6 separate regions of the Homo sapiens genome follow, and regions 1, 2, 4, 5 and 6 are each linked to region 3. The links are contacts of gene promoters, found by promoter capture Hi-C in blood cells and fetal thymus (Javierre and others, 2016). All regions are on one chromosome and are shown on one strand. The core of a region is centred on a gene start or on the middle of the fragment in contact, and the rest is flanking DNA. Distances in the headings are between cores, read along the strand shown. Region 1 overlaps ANXA2R-OT1 (ANXA2R overlapping transcript 1). Region 2 has its middle 69 kb from the start of SELENOP. Region 3 holds the start of OXCT1-AS1 (OXCT1 antisense RNA 1). Region 4 overlaps ZNF131 (zinc finger protein 131). Region 5 has its middle 73 kb from the start of FLJ32255. Region 6 has its middle 12 kb from the start of FLJ32255.

Region 1 (3,651 bases), core at 1,010-3,509, 1.2 Mb after region 3:
CTCCTTACTCCTCTTTATGACAGAATACAGAAAGATAAAGACAAAGAAAAGACTATTCTGGGAGGAAAGGGGATGAAACAACATGATTCATACTACAAAGTACCAAAAAGTACACCAGAGTCGATACACCAGCACTAGTCACACAAATCCTTTTCTCCCATCAGTCAATATTTTGGACAGGAAAAATAGAGAGTGATTTTTACTGTCTACTTCACCAGATTCCACAGAGTGGGGCCTGGAATCTGGCTGGTAAAAATTCTTTATCCTTATGCTGGCTGATCAGCTCCTGGTTTCCCTCAACTGTGGGCTTCCAAAAGAGCCAAACTTTGGGTTCCTGCTCACAGCACCAAATTTTCAGGGGCCAAGGGAAATCTTTCTCTGCGCACTCTGAAAGTTTGCTCTAAAATGGACTCACAGAGGCAGATTAATAGGAGAAAACACATAGAAAATGTATGATTGCTCAGCCCCTCAGTGAGGTGCAGGAGGTTATATACCATCTTGAGGTTACACAAAAAAGTGCATCATGCCAAAACAGGTTATAGGAGAGAGAAAACTTGTAAGGGTTCAGACTCTGTTAATCCTTCCTAGATCCAGACAAGAGAAGGCCTGTATGAATCAATGCAGATTTTCTACAGATGCAAATTTTTCCCACAAACGAAAGCATTGCAGGACTACTTATTTTGCTGGTTCTCTGGCAGCCATCTGAAAATATTTCAAATAAATATATTTTGGGGTTAAACATTTTTATTTCTTTCAAGGTGGAATATTAACTATGTATGTCTCTTATAGATATAGTTTTAAATAAATAAGGGAATCCACTTTTTCTAATTTGTTAAGATATGTTTTGTTTTAAGAATGACAAGGGGTTAAATTTTTAAAAGATTTTCTGCATCTACTGATATTATCACATGGTTTACTTCCTTTTTAATGTTAATGTGTTGACTAATATTAACTGATTTTCAAGTGCTAAACCAATATTGAGTTCATGGAATAAATCCCACTGGATCATGATGTATTTTTTAAAACATATATTGCTGGATTCAATATGCTAATACATTATAATTTTTATCACCTGTGATCATGAGAGCTCTTGGCTAACCAAAAAATTGGGGGATTGACAAGAGTGATATACAAAATAGGCATATAAATATTCATACTTGCTTGATATTTAAAAGGGCCTTTTAATTTTTCTGCCCTGCTCAGGCAGACTTATTAAATACTGGCATCATGTCTCATTCGGGGCCATTCAAAGGTCAATAGTGACCTGAATCATTCTATTTTTGTAGGCATCCTCATAATCTTTTCAATACAGATTGAATTATTTAGGATTCAGTCTGCAGAAGAAAAAAGTCAAAGCATATAAGGTAAACAGAGAGGCATATTTTATTGGCCTGGCTTCCACAGGAAGCATTAGCTAAAGTGAAAACTTATGTGCCACTTTTTAATTCAAAAGTGGTTTTTTTAAGAGAGTGGGAGTTAAAAGACAGGGTAATTAGAATAGGAAGGAGTGAGAGACAATTCAATGGTGTGCTACTGAGGCAGAAAATTTAAAAATAAATACGCATTCATTCACTCCAAGAAAAGTAACAGGCAGGGCAAGGGTTAAAAAGAAAAGAACAAGTTCTCCTCTGCCTAGCAAGCTCACTTCAAAGACAGTTATAAGATACCCCTGTCCGGAAAGCCAAGTCCAAAGGAATGGGCTCCAGACACCCGCCCCTGCTCCAGAGCAAGGTTGAATGAAAAAAAAAAAAAAAGAAAGACAAATTCTTTTACTGTTACTCCTCTCCCAGGCTTCTTAAGCGAGATTATGTTTTACAAATGTCTGTATTTAGCCAGTTCTTGTTTTTCTTTCAATGCAGGCACAAGACCACCGACTATGCAAGGCCACAAGTTATGCTATGCTATAGATTATGTGACCTATCATATGATTAGCTGCTTTTGTTTTACTTTTGTAAGCCAGCTTATAAAAACCCCACTCTGTCTTTGTTCTAGGCTCAGCTTTTTGGATGCAAATCCACTGAGCCGGTGCGTACCTAAAATAAACAATCCTCCTGTTCTCCATATCAGTCTCTCTGGTCCTCAGTTTCCTGCAACACTACCTTATTGGCCCATACTGGGTATCACGCAGGGTCAGAGGCGAATTTACCATGCAGCTAAGGAAGCTTAGCTTTTAGGATCCGTTTGAACAGGTCTGTAATTTTGTACTCAAAATTTTTATTCTTTTTTTTAAAGAGAATCCCCCACTACTTTTATGAACATTGGGTACTATTAACTGAACCTACCTTGAACACAACAGTTTGCTTGATCACATGGAACCATCTTCTAGGAAGCCCTATCTAAGAATAATCCACTTAGGATAAGCTTCTAAGAATAATCCACTTAGGATGAAAGAAAGGGGAAGAATATATCCACTGTGGGAGAAATAAAACAATCCTGACACAAAAAGACCCCTGTGTACCCAACAGAAGAGAGACAGAACACTAGTATTGAATTAGCCTTAACAGATTTACATGCATGTAAGGTAGCATGACAATAACTATAAAGCTGGCTCATATCTCATATGCTTTGAACAAAGAATGGGGAAGAATGAGAACTGCTTTTACTGCTTCAAAAGAAAAGAGGGTACACCTTGTGACAGTTTCCCCTATACTGAGAAACCCTCAGCTCGTCCTTGTAGGTGCTGTTAAAAAACATCTGGATGTTATTTTCCTATGGCCCGGGTACATTCTGGAGACCGGGCTTAATCCCTAGAGATATTATATTTCCACTGTTAGAACAAAGATTCAGAGTTGTTACCACGTTGAATGTAATATCACTGTTTTCTTTCTTTTGTGGTTTTTAGGAACAGAAACAACACACTCAGACTTGAGAAACTGGTCTGGTTTAAAAGGGTTCCTGGCCTTACAGGTGGGTAAGAAATGTCACTTCCTGGCAGGCTGAGGAACATCAGGATATTTGGAGGACCTTGACAAGGGAAGAATTCACCGAAATCTATAGGTATTCCAGGCAAAGTGTGATAGCAAGATCCTGGTATGGTTTCCTAGCCTTGAGAGGCTTTTAAAAGTCTAATTTGAGATTCCTTATTAAAAGATCCAGAAAAGCCAACTTAAAGAGACCCTGTGTGGTAAAACACTATTCCTGCTGCACTTGTGTAAATATTAGGCCAACTTTAAAGACACTAAATTTATTTTGCAAACAGATTACTCTTACTAATACTTTGATGATGTTTGATAAAAAGGGAGTAAGTATAGAGAAAAAACTTTCAGAGAAAAAAATATAGTGCACCTGTTATTAGACTCTAGCTCATTGTTTTTGAGGTTTTTTCGTCTACCTGAAATCTAGACTGGATCTTGAATTTTTTGTTTCCTGTAATATCTGGCAATGGGCTGGGTGTCAGAGCTCGCAACTGCAATCCCAGCACTTTGGGAGGTCGAGGTGGGAGGATTGCTGAAGCCCAAGACTTCGAGACCAGCCTGGGCAAAAGGCGAAACACCGTCTCTACAAAAAGTTCAAAAATTTGCTGGGCATGGAGGCATGCGCCTGTGGTTGCAGCTGCTTGGAAGGTGGAGGTGGAAGGATTGCTTGAGCCAAGGAGGTTGAGGCTGCAGTAAGCCTTGTTTGTGCCACTGCACTCCAGCCTCAATTACAAAG
Region 2 (3,639 bases), core at 1,072-3,571, 1.0 Mb after region 3:
GAACTAAAGCCAGCTACTTAAGAGTCTGAGTGTTAGGATCTGAAAAAGATAAGCTGGCTTCACTATAAAAATTGTGAATTCAGCATTTAGCTTTTTCAATGAAAAAGAAGAAAAGACTAGGAAAAAGAAGAGAATGTTTGTCCTGATATTTAGCTCTTCTCTAGGTATAGGCCACATCTTAAATCATTAGATGTCAAAAACGAAAAAGCATTTTGTAGGCCTGTGCTCAGGAAAGTGTATCAATAAGTCTATTTTCTGCTCATGCATGTGTGTGTGTGTGTGTGCGTGTGTGTGTGTGTGTGTGTGTGTGTGTTTAGGTGGGATTTGGAGTGGATTTCCATTTCCATGGGGATGGTGGGTAGTCTGGAAAGCAGAAAATCTAAAATTCTCTGTCTTGGAACTTAAAGTAAAGCTTCCTGGTGACCTACTGCCAAGCTGATGATCAGGCCTCAGCACAGGCAGGAACAGCAGACAGTCCAGCTCTGACCTCACAAAGGGAAACTTCAGTCTATAAATGCTAATCAAACATATCGCCCTGCAGGATCCACTTGTAAGAGAATTGCCTCTAGAGTGGACTTTGCTATGAACTCGTCTCTGAGGCTGTTTTATGATCTTTATGATAGTCAGGCATTGGGAGGGTGATCATTTTAGGTTACCAGGGCCCTAGCCTTGATTTGCACCATATGACCCAGGCAGATTTCCAAGAGAAAGAATCTGCAAGCCAAACCAGTGGATCTTAATCTAGAGTCTTCAGACACTCAAGGTGTCCTTGAAAGTAACAATAAAAGTCTGAGAAGTTTCTTTAAGATAGTGTTTTCTAAAAAGCATATCTTCATTTGCTCACTATAATGCTGCAAATGCTTGCTAGATCCCCAAGTTTCTATGCTTTTAGCTAAAATTATGTCATTCATTTTAGAAACAAGAGTAATTAGTCATTGACCACAAAATTCAATATGTGAAAAATCTAAGCATAAATTAGACTGGTTCCTTATATGATAGAAGTATTTTCTACTTCACTAAAATATTTGCAGTGTTTACATATTAGCATTTTCTTATATTTTTTACCTTAACTTTTTAATATATATTGAGTCACTATAAGCTTATAGTTATAATTCTGCCAATTTCCTTGAGAATTGTGTTTTCAGTTAAGTTCCCAAACAAACAAGTGTTTTAACAGACACTTGGGCTAAGAGATTGGCTAGTAGTTCTTTTTGTAAGTTGAGAATTTTAATGAGGTTAAAATATAAATTTAAAACTGTTTCATCTCTGCATGAATAAATGGACTTACTCTTCCACCATTTTATAGTGATGGTAAACAATGATAGCATGTTGATTTATTCAGAATTTGTAGTGTAAATTTCTACTGCGTAAAGTATACACACAATTTGTAAAAATTAAGGATAAAGAGGACTAATGGAGTAGCCATCTTCCTTCCCCTCCTCCTATATGCCCAAAGTAATTTAGAGTTGATTTGAAGCCACTTCTCTAGCAATTGGACTTGCATAGAATCGTGGGGGTTCACACATCACCAGCCCAGGAAACTTCAGGCTGTCCTTTGTTACTCTGTTTACTGAAATTGACATATCAGCAAGTTCAAAATTATCCTGAATAGTAGTTTTGGCATGTTCTACCTCTGGACCAGTGATAACTGTAGTCAGTGTATAATCCTTCCTGTTCAAATGGCCACACAGATTTCCTTAATGGCTTGACCTGCCAAGAGCTGGAGGCCTTAATCATCCCAGGAAAGAGGATGCCAAATACGGAGGATTTTAATTACTCTCATTTTCTTGGAGGAAAATCTCTTACAATCTTTGAAATATATTGCTTAGAACATTCCATATCTGAAAAGTAATGTTTTCTGTTAGCATCTATTGTGCAATTGGCTATAATGTGTTTACTTAAGAAAATATGGAGATGGCTTTTAACTAATTCAAAAACACAGTAAGACAGGGTATGTACACAATATTACATTTACTTAGTATGACAGTAAAGAATCCTTGTTCCCTTTTCTGGGACTTTGAGTTTAGCTCAACAAGATGGTTGCTACATAACTGTTTGAAATATTGATGCCATATAATTTTTAAAAATAGTTTTAAAGGGTGATTTGTTTTGTATTTCCTTGAACTCAAACCCTGAGACAAGGACTAGGTGCAAGCAGTTTATTTAAAAAGATCTACTAGGGAACCAGGTCAAGGGAGCTTGGAGAGGGACATGAGGAAGCAGGGAGAGCTCATGTAAGGATGCATTACTGAGGTCCCTGCCATCAGCAATGGAGATTCAATTCTGCTGGGACTTCTGAGTGGTGTACAGACTTTCTCTGAATGGTTCACCTGAAAGATGGAAGGCGGAGCAAATACTCCAACACCATTCTCCCAAGGGTTGGTCTCAAGGGCTTTAACCCCTGGCACTTCTGATCTGCTCTTGCACAAGCCAAAGATGTTCCCAGGGCCTGGGAGATGGCCTGGGGCAGAATGTGGAAAGACAAAAAGCAGGAGCCTCTTTTATTTTATATTTTATTTTGTGATAAGAGCATTTAGGATCTATGCTCTTAGAAAATTAGGTATTCAATACAGTATCTTTAACTACAGGTGCTATGCTGTACAGTAGGTCTCTAGGACTTATTTATCTTATATAACTGAAATTGTGTGCCCTTTGACCAACATCTTCCCTCTAGCGGACAGCTTGACTGCAAACTCATGACAGAATGTGGCCAAAACTACCCAGCTAAGCCACTCAGGTATTCCTGACACTGAGAAACTATAGGATATAATAGATTTTTTGTTGTTTTACGCTGTTGAGGGTAATTTATTTTGCAGCAATTGATAACCAATAGACTGTCCATATAAAGTAGAATATTGTGTGGTAATAAAATATCAGATTTTCAAAGAATTTTTGAGGATATGAAAAAGTGATGAGTATACAACATTAAGTGAAAACAGCAGGAAGCAGAACTATGTAGTGCGTGTTAATCACATCTGTTATTTTCTTCTGATCAGCAGATGTCTTTCCCCTCCTTCTTCTGCTAATAGAACTTCCCTTTCCTATGGGAAAAACATCTCACGTGTTTCAAGTGGTGCTTTGACTCCAACCCACATAGGTCAAAAACGTTAATTAGATTAAATTAAGGTAACTCATTTCCTTGGTACATCATGAAAGACAGGCTAATGAAAACAAGTCCTGGACCTTTTCTTCCTAGAACTTGGTTAAGGAAAAGAAAGGCCTTAACTCCCAAATAAAGATGGTGAAGATATCAGACACCCTAGGTTGAGTAGTTATTAAAGTCAGAACCAGCTTTAGACTTCTCAGTCATAAGCCAATAAACTCTGTTTGCTTAAGCTAATTGGGCTTGGGGTTCTGCCTGAATACAAATACAATATACAATATCATCCCATAATTGTATATAAAATGAATAAATAAAATTATTCACAAAGAATAATTTGGGGTAAATCTACCAAACGTTATCACTAGTTCTAGCTAGATTTCATATTATTGAACTTGCCATATCAGAAATTTTTAAAACAAAACTTCTTAGCCCTCACAGTTGGAAGCTTTGACTCAGTAGTTCTGGATTACAGACTAGATCTTTTATTGAATATTTCTATGTGTTTGTGAGTTTTCCAAAATTTCTCTTGATTTCTA
Region 3 (3,503 bases), core at 599-3,098:
CGTTTTAGCTGTTAGTTATGTTTAGTGGAAAAACTCAAGGTTTCTGTTTGCCTGGAGGGTTCTCTCATCCGTACTTTAAACATGTGTAGAATATCTGATCTATGCAGAGTAGTGTGTTTGTTGAGGGAGACTAAGTGTAAGGCATAAATATGGTCTCTGCCATCGGGGAACTGTCATCTGGTTGAGGAGACAATATACACATCTGAAAAGTTAAACAAGTAGATAAGTGGTACAGTTCAACAGAAGCAGCAGGTGAGGATTTAAAGTGCTAAACAATAAGGGCTGTAATCCCAGCACTTTGGGAGGCCGAGGCGGGCGGATCACGAGGTCAGGAGATCGAGACCATCCCAGCTAAAACGGTGAAACCCCGTCTCTACTAAAAATACAAAAAATTAGCCGGGCGTAGTGGCGGGCGCCTGTAGTCCCAGCTACTTGGGAGGCTGAGGCAGGAGAATGGCGTGAACCCGGGAGGCGGAGCTTGCAGTGAGCCGAGATCCCGCCACTGCACTCCAGCCTGGGCGACAGAGCGAGACTCCGTCTCAAAAAAAAAAAAACAATAAGGGCACTAAGAGCCACAAGCTAGGGGAATAGTGGAAGGCAGGAGTTAGACCTATGATAATCAAGCCTGACAGGGCTAAGTTTGAACTCTGTATGAACTTTTAATGAGATATAGCAGAACCCCTTATTTGCATCTCGTCCCTCTAAGATGAGGTTTGCTGAGCTTCGGAAATGGTTTAATGATATACTCAAGATGGAAAAGACTTGAAGTGAGTAAATTACAGTTGGGCAAATCAGTAACTGTCAAAAGAAGGAACGTTCCTGACCTCGGCCCAAGGGTATCGCTGTGCTCTGGTTTGTATTAGCTTCAGCACCGCTGCAATCTCACTGAAGGTCAAGTTCCCTTTTAATAATGCTTTATATATCCAAGTCTATCTGCAGTTATAAAAATGCTTCCTAAGAGGCATTTAAGAGTAAAATGGTCCAGTTCTGAACCATTCCCTAGCACCTACCGAAGGAGCTCAGTGGCTCCTCTGTGTTCTCAGCGGTCAGGGATTGGATGCAGGAAAGAGCAATGGGGCCAGGCAGGCACGCTTCAGGAGTAAGCACCGTGTGCATGGCACGCTGTCAAGCTCAGACCTATTACTGAATACCAAGGAAGAGGCTCCCGCGATTGAGACGGCGGGGATAAAGCCACCCTCCTGGACCTGGCGCTCTGGTCCTGTAATTCGCTCCTAGGGCTCCAGACAGGGGTGGGCTTACAAGCGAGGACAGTGCATAAGGCAAAACCACAAGTCAGTCCACGGTGGGAATGCCTCCGGATACCACTCGGTGGAGAGTCGGCAGTGGGGCACAAAAAGGATTTCAAAGGGCTCTGAAAACCGAAAGCCCCTAACCCGGATACGAGGGGCCTCGAGAGAAAGGTTTGTCCTCCCCTGCAGCCCAGGCGCGGGCCAGGGACACACCTCGGATGGTTTCCCAGCTTGGCCGGCAAGACGCCCTGGCGAGCGCTCCAGTCTACGGGGCAGCAGAGCCAAATAGGGAGGAGAGGATGGGAGCGGCATTCCACACCCGCCGCACCCGGCATCCAGCCCCGGTGAACTCGAGCAGAGCCATGGCTAACCCAGCCTCAGGTTCTGGGCCTCTAGAGGTTCCTCTGCCCAGAGATCCAACATCGGGGGCGCAAACCTACCCGCTGTTGCCTCACTCCTAAACCTCCATATACTGGCGCCCTCCTCCCCCCGTTCAGACCCTCAGAGTCCCTATCCAAGGGCGGGTGCCAGGAGGGAAGCCGACGAGCGCCAAAGGGCTCGGGAGCGCTGCCAGGAGTCCTCCCGCCCCTTCTCAGCCTCTCCGCGCGCTTCTTTATCGCGTCTCGCTCCATCAGGGAAGCGACTGCAGAACCAAGCAAAGGCGGTCATCCGAGGGGCCGGCGAGGCCAGGAACGCGTCGCCGCGTGTCCGTGACCAGGGCACCGCGCCACGGATGCCAGATCCCAGGCTGGAGAGAGCGGGTAGGGGCAGAGAAGAAAACGCGGGCACCACTCAGGGTTTGGTCCACGTTCTTCCTGCCCATGGCCTTCCTCTTCCCCCGCACTTTACCTTGTACCAGGTTGCCCCAGATCCGCGGGCAGAGGCGCAGAGCCGAAGCCCGGAGGAGAGGAGTTTGAGAGCCGCCATCTTCGGGCGGTGAGGCAGGAGGAGGCTGCGGGTTGGAGCGCGCGTTTGAGCGTCGGTGCGCGACTGCGAAGGAAACCCGGGCGGGCTGGAGGCTCGACAGCGCGTCGATGACGTCCTCCCGGCCTTTCGAGCCGCACGCCACCGGCGCGCTGCTGGCTGCTGCTTTTAAAAGAAGTGAGGCTGGGCGGGGCCCCGGCGGGGAGAAGAGGCTCTGTGCAGCCGGGGCGGATCGCGGGGAAGTTCCTCTCAGCGCCTCAGGTGTCTGGGCGTGTGCAGCTGTGTTGGCGCACACTTGCCGCTACAGCCCTTCTGTCAGCCCTTTAGCTTCGATGGGGCGCTGGTGGCCGCCTCCCCCTAGGTTGTGGATGAGTCTTGGCCTAGGGTTCAGGGCCCTCCGGCCGCGGGAGGATCTCCCGCCAAGCTTGTTGCTTTTCCAAGTTAGTGCCTGGCGTGTGTGTGGGCTGCATAGGGGCACCCCTCGAGGCCCCCTTCTCTTCTCCCGCCTGGACTGCGTTCACGTTTCTAACATTTCTCAGCCCCTTCTCCCCACATCTGGCCTTGGCTTACATAGAGTAAGTTTGCTGTGAGCACTTGCCTCGAACTGTCGGTCAAGAGGTGTGAGCAACAAGGCTTGCAGAGGAACAAGATTAAGACTGGACCTCTGTGACCTGAGTTTAGCACACCTTTTCTTCCCCATCATCCAAGTTTGCGAATTTCGGGCTCTTTCTCGCACTGGAGTCCCAGCAACCCCAGAGATTACTAAAGATGCAACCATAAAAGCAGTATATTGCTTTAACCTTAGGCAAGTTAGATAACTTCCCTAAGCCTCAGTGTCCTCATCTGCAAATTAGGATTGCTTGTGATACAACGTCATAACGTTTCTATGAGTTAATTCATGCAAAGTTTATGGCCTTATTATGAGGAGTCAATAAATGTTAGGCATTATTATAAGTTTATTCCATTGTAGCAGTTCATTGACATGGCACGTACATATTCGCCAAGCCTTGTCTTTTGACCAACTCCTTGAGGACATGAGCCACGACTGATTTCTCCAGAACTGTCTTTGCACTTAGCAGAGTGGAAAGACCAAGTGGAAGCTCAATAGCATTTTATTTGATTAAGGCCTGACCAAGTTCTGAGAATGTGATGTTAGTTTTGAACCAAAGCAAAGCACACAAAAATTAAATGAGATCTTAGCTTCCTTAGCAAATACAGTAAGGTAATGAACAGTGAAGATGCAGTTCAAAGTTTGTCCATAAAATCATTTGCCCTTTCATGGTATTCTTTTAACTCTGAACTTTTTTTTTTCCTGTAAATATTATAATT
Region 4 (3,452 bases), core at 237-2,736, 1.3 Mb after region 3:
ATGGAGCTTCCAAATATTAGGCATATTAAAATGTTTTTCATAGCAGACATATCCAGCTTTGTGCTTACGGTTTTTTTCTCTCTTTCCAAATGATATGTGACCTTTTGGGTTGTCCTTTTATTTAGCAGTTTCAACTGAGTTGGATATGCTTCTCACTACTTAATTGGAAACAACAGAGTGTCAAGAGGCTCCTTACCTAGTGTTGTAAATTAGGCTTTATAAAACTAAAGGGGTTTGAAGTGAAGATTTAGCTTTATATCTAATTGAGATTAACATTTGCCAAGATAGCTGCCAAGAATATTCTGCATTTAGTTCAATAATTTCTGTAGTTACGTAATGAAGGAAGACCTATTTTGCTTTATATGATTTTTAAGTCTATTTTGTAGTTATACATTTGATTTTCGTGCTTGTGTATGATTTTCTTTTTTTTTCTTATTTTACCTAGGACACCATTTTAAGGCTCACAAGGCTGTTTTGGCTGCTTGTAGTAAGTTCTTCTACAAATTCTTTCAGGAGTTTACCCAAGAACCATTGGTGGAGATAGAAGGTAAATGATTCTTGTTGTTTTTTTATTTAATAAATCAAAGAAGCCATTTTATTTAAATGCTTGTTTTAAATACAATACTTAGCAAACAATTGGTGAAGCAGTTTTAGACAGTTTATCAAGACACCATAGGAAATAGGCATCAGTAGTTCCTGTAGGTAAAGGTAGATAAATTGTTCTTTTGATACCTGAGAAGTCTTACTTTCAGTGAAGTGCTTGGTTGAATGATCTGCCAGGAAAAACTTAGATGGTAGATGTTGGTCTTTTCCATTGTGGAAACTGGTGGTCATTGTTTTTTGAAAACAAGTATTAAACGTGAATTACTATCTTTGTTCAGTGGGCTTATGTTTCAGACTGCTGGAGATGCTGCAGGTTACAGTAGAAGCTTTTACTGTACTCTATAGCAGAAGTAGTGATGTATTAGCAGAGGTACAGATGACATGCAGTGTGAAGTGGGCTGCCATAATAGGGAGAAAGCTAGGAAAAATGAACTGAAGTAGCATTTAGAGGAAATTCTGGCTCTACAATGGGATGGATCAATACCTGTTACCTTGAAGCAAAAAGTGATTTTTGTACTTTCTAGACATTTTTCTAATAATAACCTGCCAAGTGCCAGGCGTTGTGATATGTAGTTTTGTGTATTGTCTAAGGCTCACAGCAATCGTTTGATGTTGGGCAGGATGGCTTGTGCTTGTAGTCCCAGCTACTCGGGAGGCTGAGGCAGGAGGATTGCTTGAGCCCAGGAGTTCGAGGCCAGCCTGGGGCAACATAGACCCTGTCTTTTCTTTTCTTTTCTTTTCTTTTCAAAAAGGGAAGTGGTGTTATTTGTAATAATTTACACTTCAGGAAGCAGGCTCTAAAAGGTTACTTGCCCAGGGTTGTCCAACTAGCAAGGAATTAAGTTTGTGCTATTAATTACCATGCTTTTTCTTCTGCTACTGCAGTAACTCCTCCCCTACCACCAGCATCAAAATCTAAAACAGCAGGAAATAAATGTTTGCCTACGTAATTACAGAATTTTAGCTTCTTTTAGGGTTCTTGGGTTTTGGTTTTATATCTATTTCATTGTGTACGTATTCTTTGTTCTGAATGGGTTGCCTAGAAACTCCTTTTTTCCCTTTGATGCCTAGGGGAGTAAAGAAAACAAAAAAGAGTTAAGAATATTCTTTAATTTTGGTATATTCCAGTTTAGCATTATAGCTGATATATTTACAGCTAGAGTATCTTTTAATATCTATAATCAGGACAGAGACATAATTATGAAAATCCACAAAACTTAATAAAGTGAGAATCTAACTGCCCAGATGATAGTGGTTTCTACTACAAAGCAAGCCTCCATGAATTCATTCACACCTGAGGTTTATTAAATATGTGACCCCAGGCGGGTTACTTTACCTCAATTGCATACTTTTCTCCTCATCTGAAAAGTGGGTTCATAGGATTATAAAGACTAATTGCGATAACATGCAGAGTGCATGGCATGATATTTGGTGCCTTGTCAAAGCTTGATAAACAGGGTCCAGTCTAAGAAACATTAGGGAGACCTCTTCTCTACAAAAAATTTAAAAAATTATTAGCTGAGTCTGATGGCACATGCCTGTGGTCCCAGCTATTCAGGAGGCTGAGGCGGGAGGATTGCTGGGGCCCAGGAGGTCAAAGCTGCAGTGAGCCATGATTTTGCCACTGCATTGTAGCCTGGGCGACAGAGCAAGGCCCTGTCTCAAAAAAAAAAAAAAAAAGTCAGTTTATCATATTGAATATCTATAATATATCATGTACTATGTTAGACCCAGGAGATGAAGAATTAATGAATAAGATGTCCCTTAAAGAAGTCGGAAAATTTCATAACAGGTGAGCAACAGGCAAATAAAGGAGTGCAAAAAGTATTACAAAGACTATTACTGTGAAATGGTATCACTGAAGAGGGAGAATGAGTGGTTTGGTCTTCCTTAGGAAAGATTTCAAAGAGGAGTTTTGAGTCTGAGCAGAATTTTTTTTTTCTTTTTTTTGGAGATAGATTTTAGCTCTTGTTACCCAGGCTGGAGTGCAATGGCGTGATCAGGCTGGTCTCGAATTCCCCACCTCAGGTGATCCACCCGCCTCTTCCTCCCAAAGTGCTGGGATTACAGGCGTGAGACCACGACTGGCCAAGTCTGAGCAGAATTTTTAAGTCTTAAAAAATAAGTGGCCTGGCCGGATGCGGTGGCTCACGCCTGTAATCCCAGCACTTTGGGAGGCCGAGGCAGGCAGATCACCTGAGGTCGAGAGGTCGAGACCAGCCTGACCAACATGGTGAAACCCTGTCTCTACTAAAAATATAAAATTAGCCGGGCGTGGTGGTGGGCACCTGTAATCCCAGCTACTCAGGAAGGCCGAGGCAGGAGAATCGCTTGAACCCGGGAGGCGGAGGTTGTAGCGAGCTGAGTCACGCCATTGCACTCCAGCCTGGGCAACAAGAGTGAAACTCCGTCTCAAAGAAAAAAAAAAGGAAAAGTGGCCCAAGCTGGAATATTTGTTGCTGGTAGAATGAGCACACATTACCTGGAGAAGTAGAAGTAGAGCCTGGTCTTCTGAAGACTAGTCACCTTGAGATTTAGGTCTGTGGCACACACAAGTCTTCAGTATTTGAATTCTAGATAGATAAGAAAGCAAAATAGACACACACTTTATTTCTGTCATTTGGTCAGATTCAGGTTTAAATAATTAATTTGGTTCAGTATCTTAAGCCCTTAACTTTGGGGTTACAGTACTGTCTAGCAAGGTCACCTGGCTGTGGAGAAAGCCCTGGGCATATAGTTAGTTAGAAAACTTGAGTTTTAGCCCTGGCTTTAACTGTTTGTGTGCTGTGTGACCTTAGATATCTTGGCTTCCTTATTTTTCATGTCACATAATTTTGGAGTATGTCATG
Region 5 (3,110 bases), core at 49-2,548, 1.1 Mb after region 3:
TATTTCTGTTATTTGGTCTTTGAGGAATTGCCATGCTGTTTTCCACAATGGTGGAAATATTTACACTAATTTACACTCTCACCAATTGTGTATAAGCAAAATTTTAACATTTTTTTAAAAAGTACTTGGAAGTTTGCATTGACATTGAATCAACTTAAGGTAGAATTTTAAAGCTTTTCATACTTTGGAACACCACCTGGCTTTGGTCCAACCCCAGAACAAAGCAGAGCCATCTCTTACATACAAACAATTGTCCTGCTGCTGTAAACTTCAACACCTTGCATGAGGAAATTCAATTTAAAAGGAGAACTTGTATAGCTTTCAAACATATTAATATGTTTATTAATAATAACTTGCTCTGCAAGTTATTTTAAACCATCATTAAAAACCAGTGTTTGCCGGGTGCAGTGGTTCACACCTGTAATCCCACTGCTTTGGGAGGCCAAGGAGGGCAGATCACGAGGTCAGGAGTTTGAGACCAGCCTCGCCAACATAGTGAAACCCCATCTCTACTAAAAATACAAAAAAATTAGCCAGGCGTGGTGGTGGGCACCTGTAATCCCAGCTACTTGGGAGGCTGAGGCAGGAGAATCGTTTGAACCTATGAGGCGGAGGTTGCAGTGAGCTCAGATCACACCATTTCACTTCAGCCCGGGCTACAGTGCAAGACTCCATCTCAAAAACAAAACAAAACAAAACAAACAAACAAATGAACCAGTGTTTTGGTTTACTACTTAAGTATATTTGGAGTGAAAATTATCACTAAAATAATATATGACTCTAACAAAAATGCTTTCATTGTAATAAAATGTACTACATTGATTTGCCAAAGTTTTGCAACCTGGTAAAGGTTGCAAAAGGTCCTTGGATTTGTAGTTTGTGATTTAATATGCTGTACCATGGACTGGTTATGTTAACTGGAAAAATAAATTTGTTACTTGAAAATCCAAACAAAACAAAAAACAAAAAGCGAAGGCAGATTAAAGAGGACCACAGGAAGATTTATAGCCTTGTGCCTTCTGAGTTGACAACCACAGAGTTCCAGGGCATTAACTCTAGATCTGACAATTCCAGGCACCTACAGAATTCTCCCCTGGTGAGTCTTACCCACGATCTGGAAGTCCAAGATCAAAGCACCAGATTCAGCTCTTGGTGGGGATTCTCTTTCTGTCGTGCCAATGGCCATGTTGTTGCTGTGTTCTCACATGGCACAGAGGGAAAGAAAAAGAGAGAAAGGGGGAGAAAGGGAGAGAGGGAGAAGGGGAGAGAACAAGAAGGACATGGTATCTCTTCCTTTTCTCGGAAGGCCGCCAATCCCATTATGAAAGCCCCAACCTCGTAACTTCATCTTAACGTGCTTGTCTCCCAAAGGCTCCATCTCTAAATACCATCACCTTGTGGATTAATCAAAATCATCATGAATTTTGGGGAAGACAATTCAGTCCATAGCACCAAGTGTATGTGATGATCTCATAATCTCTGCCCATCTCAGGGCCTGCATCAACTGAGACTATTTTCTTTCTTCAGGCATTTCAGAAGACAGAGATTTTTTTTAAAAAAAGGTGCAGCAGAGAATACAATGCATTGATTAATTAATTAATTAATTAATTCTGAGACAGCATCTCACTCCAGCACCCTGGATTATTTGGGTTACTTCAGTGCCCCTCTGGCAGGTGATATTGTTTCACATTCATTGCTTGCCTGTATGGGGGCAAGTACACAGGCATCCATTGGGCCAATCCCCTTTTTGTAGCTTGATTACTTTCCAGACTCAGACCTTATTCTTATTCAGCTCATTTGAGGTCCACTAATGCTCTAATGCTTAACTCATAGCATAGATTTTATTTCACATTAATGGATTCAGAAGTGTGACCAATGCCCAATGTCACAATTCTTTTTTAATTGGAAATGACCCAGACATTCAATGGTATCTGAAATAATTTTAATAGTTTAAGTTACATTAAAAGTTCACCTACAAGCATTGATTCCATTTACATTTATTCAATTTATTCACCTATAGCAGTTTATCTAGATTAGTTCTTAGAACTAAGACATTAGACAACACTAATTATCGCTCCAAGTTATTTCTTTGTTAACAATTTGCATGGCCTGTGAATATCAGGTGTTCACCTATGCAAAAATCTTAAACACATGGGCATTTTTTTCTGATAATACAGAAAAATTAATTATTCTTATGGAACCAACAATATTAAATTAGTCTTATTTATCAAAAAAGTCATTCAAAGAAAGATTATTCTGTTTTTGGTTGAGTTTATGATCTTATAACCTTCATGTAAAATTCTAGCATGTTCAAATATTTAGCAAAGGCAAATATAAAACTCATCTAATTAGTAAACCCAGAAAAAAATGTATGTTTACCATTCCAAAGACATTTCTATTTTTATTTTGTGAATAGTTTTAAAGCAAGCTTATTATTAAAGACTACTAAATTCACACAAATTTGAAAAGCATTTGGACTTTCTTGCTAAATTTGTAAGCACTCATTTACTTATAAGCCAATATGGTGCCATTTTGGACATAACATACAACATAATACATGTAACACGCACAGAAACACATAGAAACACGTATCCATACACACAAAGATCAAATAGATGTTACCGTGAAACTCTAGCCATGACATGGCATCATAAACTCATTATTTTACAAAAGGCAGCTGGAGTGGATCCAAATTATTTCAGGACAGGACAAAACTGGGACCTGTCCACATGGCTAAACTTTATCTGCCCTGATAGGTAATCCAGTTAATGCTGTGGACCAAACCTTTGGCTAATGCAGTTTCCATAGTAGTTTTATATCTAAAACTTTTTTTAACCATTTTTTCCTTCAGTTCCAAATTAGTTTCCAATGTTTACATCTTAGCTAGAACTGGCTGAACTGCATACAAAAAACAAAGTTTCCAGGCCGGGCACAGTGGCTCACGCCTGTAATCCCAGCACTTTGGGAGGCTGAGGTGGTCGGATCACGAGGTCAGGAGATCCAGACCATCCTGGCTAACATGGCGAAACCCCGTCTGTACTAAAAAAATACAAAACATTATCCGGGCGTGGTGGTGGGCGCCTGTAGTCCCAGCTACTCTGGGAGGCTGA
Region 6 (3,296 bases), core at 238-2,737, 1.1 Mb after region 3:
TTTTGTGGAATAGAAAAGGGGGAAATGTGGGGAAAAGAAAGAGAGATCACCCCTCCCCCTCCCCCTCCCTCTCTCCATGGTCTCCCTCTCCCTCTCTTTCCACGGTCTCCCTCTGATGCCGAGCCGAAGCTGGACTGTACTGCTGCCATCTCGGCTCACTGCAACCTCCCTGCCTGATTCTCCTGCCTCAGCCTGCGGAGTGCCTGCGATTGCAGGCGCGCGCCGCCACGCCTGACTGGTTTTCGTATTTTTTTGGTGGAGACGGGGTTTCGCTGTGTTGGCCGGGCTGGTCTCCAGCTCCTAACCGCCAGTGATCCGCCAGCCTCGGCCTCCCGCGGTGCCGGGATTGCAGACGGAGTCTGGTTCACTCAGTGCTCAATGGTGCCCAGGCTGGAGTGCAGTGGCGTGATCTCGGCTCGCTACAACCTCCACCTCCCAGCCGCCTGCCTTGGCCTCCCAAAGTGCTGAGAGTGCAGCCTCTGCCAGGCCGACACCCCGTCTGGGAATTGAGGAGCGTCTCTGCCTGGCCGCCCATCGTCTGGGACGTGAGGAGCCCCTCTGCCTGGCTGCCCAGTCTGGAAAGTGAGGAGTGTCTCTGCCCGGCCGCCATCCCATCTAGGAAGTGAGGAGCGCCTCTTCCCGGCCGCCATCCCATCTAGGAAGTGAGGAGCGTCTCTGCCCGGCCACCCATCGTCTGAGATGTGGGGAGCGCCTCTGCCCCGCCACCTCATCTGGGATGTGAGGAGCACCTCTGCCCGGCCGCGACCCCGTCTGGGAGGTGAGGAGCGTCACTGCCTAGCCGCCCCGTCTGAGAAGTGAGGAGACCCCCCGCCTGGCAACCGCCCCGTCTGAGAAGTGAGGAGCCCCTCCGCCCGGCAGCCACCCCGTCTGGGAAGTGAGGAGCGTCTCCGCCCGGCAGCCACCCCGTCCGGGAGGGAGGTGGGGGGGTCAGCGCCCCGCCCGGCCAGCCGCCCCGTCCGAGAGGGAGGTGGGGAGGGTCAGCCCCCCGCCCGGCCAGCCGCCCCGTCTGGGAGGTGAGGGGCGCCTCTGCCCAGCCGCCCCTACTGGGAAGTGAGGAGCCCCTCTGCCCGGCCACCACCCCGTCTGGGATGTGTACCCAACAGCTCATTGAGAACGGGCCATGATGACAGTGGCGGTTTTGTGGAATAGAAAGGGGGGAAAGGTGGGGAAAAGATTGAGAAATCGGATGGTTGCCGTGTCTGTGTAGAAAGAAGTAGACATGGGAGACTTTTCATTTTGTTCTGTACTAAGAAAAATTCTTCTGCCTTGGGATCCTGTTGATCTGTGACCTTACCCCCAACCCTGTGCTCTCTGAAACATGTGCTGTGTCCACTCAGGGTTAAATGGATTAAGGGCGGTGCAAGATGTGCTTTGTTAAACAGATGCTTGAAGGCAGCATGCTCGTTAAGAGTCATCACCACTCCCTAATCTCAAGTACCCAGGGACACAAACACTGCGGAAGGCCGCAGGGTCCTCTGCCTAGGAAAACCACAGACCTTTGTTCACTTGTTTATCTGCTGACCTTCCCTCCACTATTGTCCTATGACCCTGCCAAATCCTCCTCTGCGAGAAACACCCAAGAATGATCAATTAAAAAAAAAAAATAAAGCTGTTTAAACACAAAAAAAAAAAAAAAAAAAGAAAGAGATCAGATTGTTACTGTGTCTGTGTAGAAAGAACTAGACATAGGAGACTCCATTGTGTTCTGTACTAAGAAAAATTCTTCTGCCTTGGGATGCTGTTAATCTATAACCTTACCCCCAACCCCGTGCTCTCTGAAACATGTGCTGTGTCCACTAAGGGTTAAATGGATTAAGGGCGGTGCAAGATGTGCTTTGTTAAACAGATGCTTGAAGGCAGCATGCTCGTTAAGAGTCATCACCACTCCCTAATCTCAAGTACCCAGGGACACAAACACTGCGGAAGGCCGCAGGGTCCTCTGCCTAGGAAAACCACAGACCTTTGTTCACTTGTTTATCTGCTGACCTTCCCTCCACTATTGTCCTATGACCCTGCCAAATCCTCCTCTGCGAGAAACACCCAAGAATGATCAATTAAAAAAAAAAAATAAAGCTGTTTAAACACAAAAAAAAAAAAAAAAAAAGAAAGAGATCAGATTGTTACTGTGTCTGTGTAGAAAGAACTAGACATAGGAGACTCCATTGTGTTCTGTACTAAGAAAAATTCTTCTGCCTTGGGATGCTGTTAATCTATAACCTTACCCCCAACCCCGTGCTCTCTGAAACATGTGCTGTGTCCACTAAGGGTTAAATGGATTAAGGGCGGTGCAAGATGTGCTTTGTTAAACAGATGCTTGAAGGCAGCATGCTCGTTAAGAGTCATCACCACTCCCTAATCTCAAGTACCCAGGGACACAAACACTGCGGAAGGCGGCGGCGGGGCGCTCTGCCTAGGAAAACCAGAGAGCTTTGTTCACATGTTTATCTGCTGACCTTCCCTCCACTATTGTCCTATGACCCTGCCAAATCCCCCTCTCTGAGAAACAGCCAAGAATGATCAATAAATACTAAGAAAATAAAAAATAAAAAAAGAAATAATGACACATCTTACAATGACTAGTTTCTTAGATTGAGGAAATTATAATTCCAGACAAATGTTAAGCCAAAGAAGGCCAGTGTAGCTCTAGTACTACATTGGCTTAGCCTCTCTCTTCAAATTACTTAGCTTGCTGAAATAATCCAATTAGGCCATCTGGAAAAAAAAAAAAAAAAAAAAAAACACAAGACAAACCAATACAAAAGATGTGCCTGATCGTTACAGGACCAACAGGTTTGGATATCTGCTGTGCAGTAACATAAATATATACCAAAACACTGAAACAGCAGGGCTTACAGCAGAAAAAGAATGTAATGATAGCAGGGCAGCCAGGTGAGGAAACAGGAGGGACCCTCAAATCCACCTCCCTGAGAAATTCTGGTCTGGAGGTGTTTGTTTTTGTTTTGTTTTGTTTTGTTTTTAACAGAATCTTGCTCCATCACCCAGGCTGGAGTGCAGTGGTGTGATCTCAGCCCACTGCAACCTCTGCCTCCCGGGTTCAGGCGATTCTCCTGCCTTAGCCTTCTCCTGCTTCAGCCTCCTGAATAGCTAGGATTACATGTGTGCACCACCACACCCGACTAATTTTTGTATTTTTAGTAGAGATGGGGTTTCAGTGGTCTCGTACTCCTGACCTGGTGATCTGCCCACCTCAGCCTCCCAAAGTCCTGGGATTACAGGAGTGAGCCACCGTGCCCCGCCCAGCTCTGGAGTTTTTA

Evidence for each region. Contacts are between HindIII fragments. The CHiCAGO score rates a contact against its expected background, and 5 or more counts as called.
Region 1: a contact is called between a fragment that was not itself captured here and the fragment with the promoter of OXCT1-AS1 in region 3, in 2 of 17 cell types (naive CD8 T cells and total CD8 T cells). The highest score is 7.5, in naive CD8 T cells.
Region 2: a contact is called between a fragment that was not itself captured here and the fragment with the promoter of OXCT1-AS1 in region 3, in 4 of 17 cell types (M2 macrophages, M1 macrophages, M0 macrophages and 1 more). The highest score is 7.2, in M2 macrophages.
Region 4: a contact is called between a fragment that was not itself captured here and the fragment with the promoter of OXCT1-AS1 in region 3, in 2 of 17 cell types (non-activated CD4 T cells and naive CD8 T cells). The highest score is 7.8, in non-activated CD4 T cells.
Region 5: a contact is called between a fragment that was not itself captured here and the fragment with the promoter of OXCT1-AS1 in region 3, in 1 of 17 cell types (non-activated CD4 T cells). The highest score is 5.2, in non-activated CD4 T cells.
Region 6: a fragment that was not itself captured here is called in contact with the fragment with the promoter of OXCT1-AS1 in region 3 in 1 of 17 cell types (activated CD4 T cells); the score reaches 5.9 in activated CD4 T cells.

The regions. Positions count from the first base shown.
Region 1 is chr5:43,047,717-43,051,367 of GRCh38, forward strand. The region is part of intron 2 of ANXA2R-OT1 (ANXA2R overlapping transcript 1); the gene reads right to left. Among named protein-coding and RNA genes, the nearest start is that of ANXA2R-AS1, 7.4 kb to the left of the region's middle. The HindIII fragment of the contact is 199 bases long and covers 2,161-2,359 here.
Region 2 is chr5:42,878,950-42,882,588 of GRCh38, forward strand. No RefSeq gene overlaps it. Among named protein-coding and RNA genes, the nearest start is that of SELENOP, 69 kb to the left of the region's middle. The HindIII fragment of the contact is 2,449 bases long and covers 1,098-3,546 here.
Region 3 is chr5:41,868,182-41,871,684 of GRCh38, forward strand. OXCT1-AS1 (OXCT1 antisense RNA 1) reads left to right here and starts at 1,849. Exons shown (of 3, transcript NR_046635.1): 1 at 1,849-2,011; 2 at 2,110-2,201; 3 at 2,585-3,503. It overlaps OXCT1 (3-oxoacid CoA-transferase 1), which reads right to left and starts at 2,244. Exons shown (of 17, transcript NM_000436.4): 1 at 2,100-2,244. The coding sequence starts at 2,177. LOC102723752 (a long non-coding RNA gene) reads left to right here. Exons shown (of 3, transcript XR_925956.4): 1 at 1-1,421. RefSeq lists enhancers at 1,881-1,960, 2,791-2,840. The HindIII fragment of the contact is 3,584 bases long and covers 1-2,596 here.
Region 4 is chr5:43,122,764-43,126,215 of GRCh38, forward strand. ZNF131 (zinc finger protein 131) reads left to right here. Exons shown (of 7, transcript NM_001330707.2): 3 at 446-547. Among named protein-coding and RNA genes, the nearest start is that of ZNF131, 3.6 kb to the left of the region's middle. The HindIII fragment of the contact is 1,119 bases long and covers 928-2,046 here.
Region 5 is chr5:42,918,767-42,921,876 of GRCh38, forward strand. No RefSeq gene overlaps it. Among named protein-coding and RNA genes, the nearest start is that of FLJ32255, 73 kb to the right of the region's middle. The HindIII fragment of the contact is 2,255 bases long and covers 172-2,426 here.
Region 6 is chr5:42,979,761-42,983,056 of GRCh38, forward strand. No RefSeq gene overlaps it. Among named protein-coding and RNA genes, the nearest start is that of FLJ32255, 12 kb to the right of the region's middle. RefSeq lists enhancers at 989-1,814, 1,815-2,640. The HindIII fragment of the contact is 9,477 bases long and covers 1-3,296 here.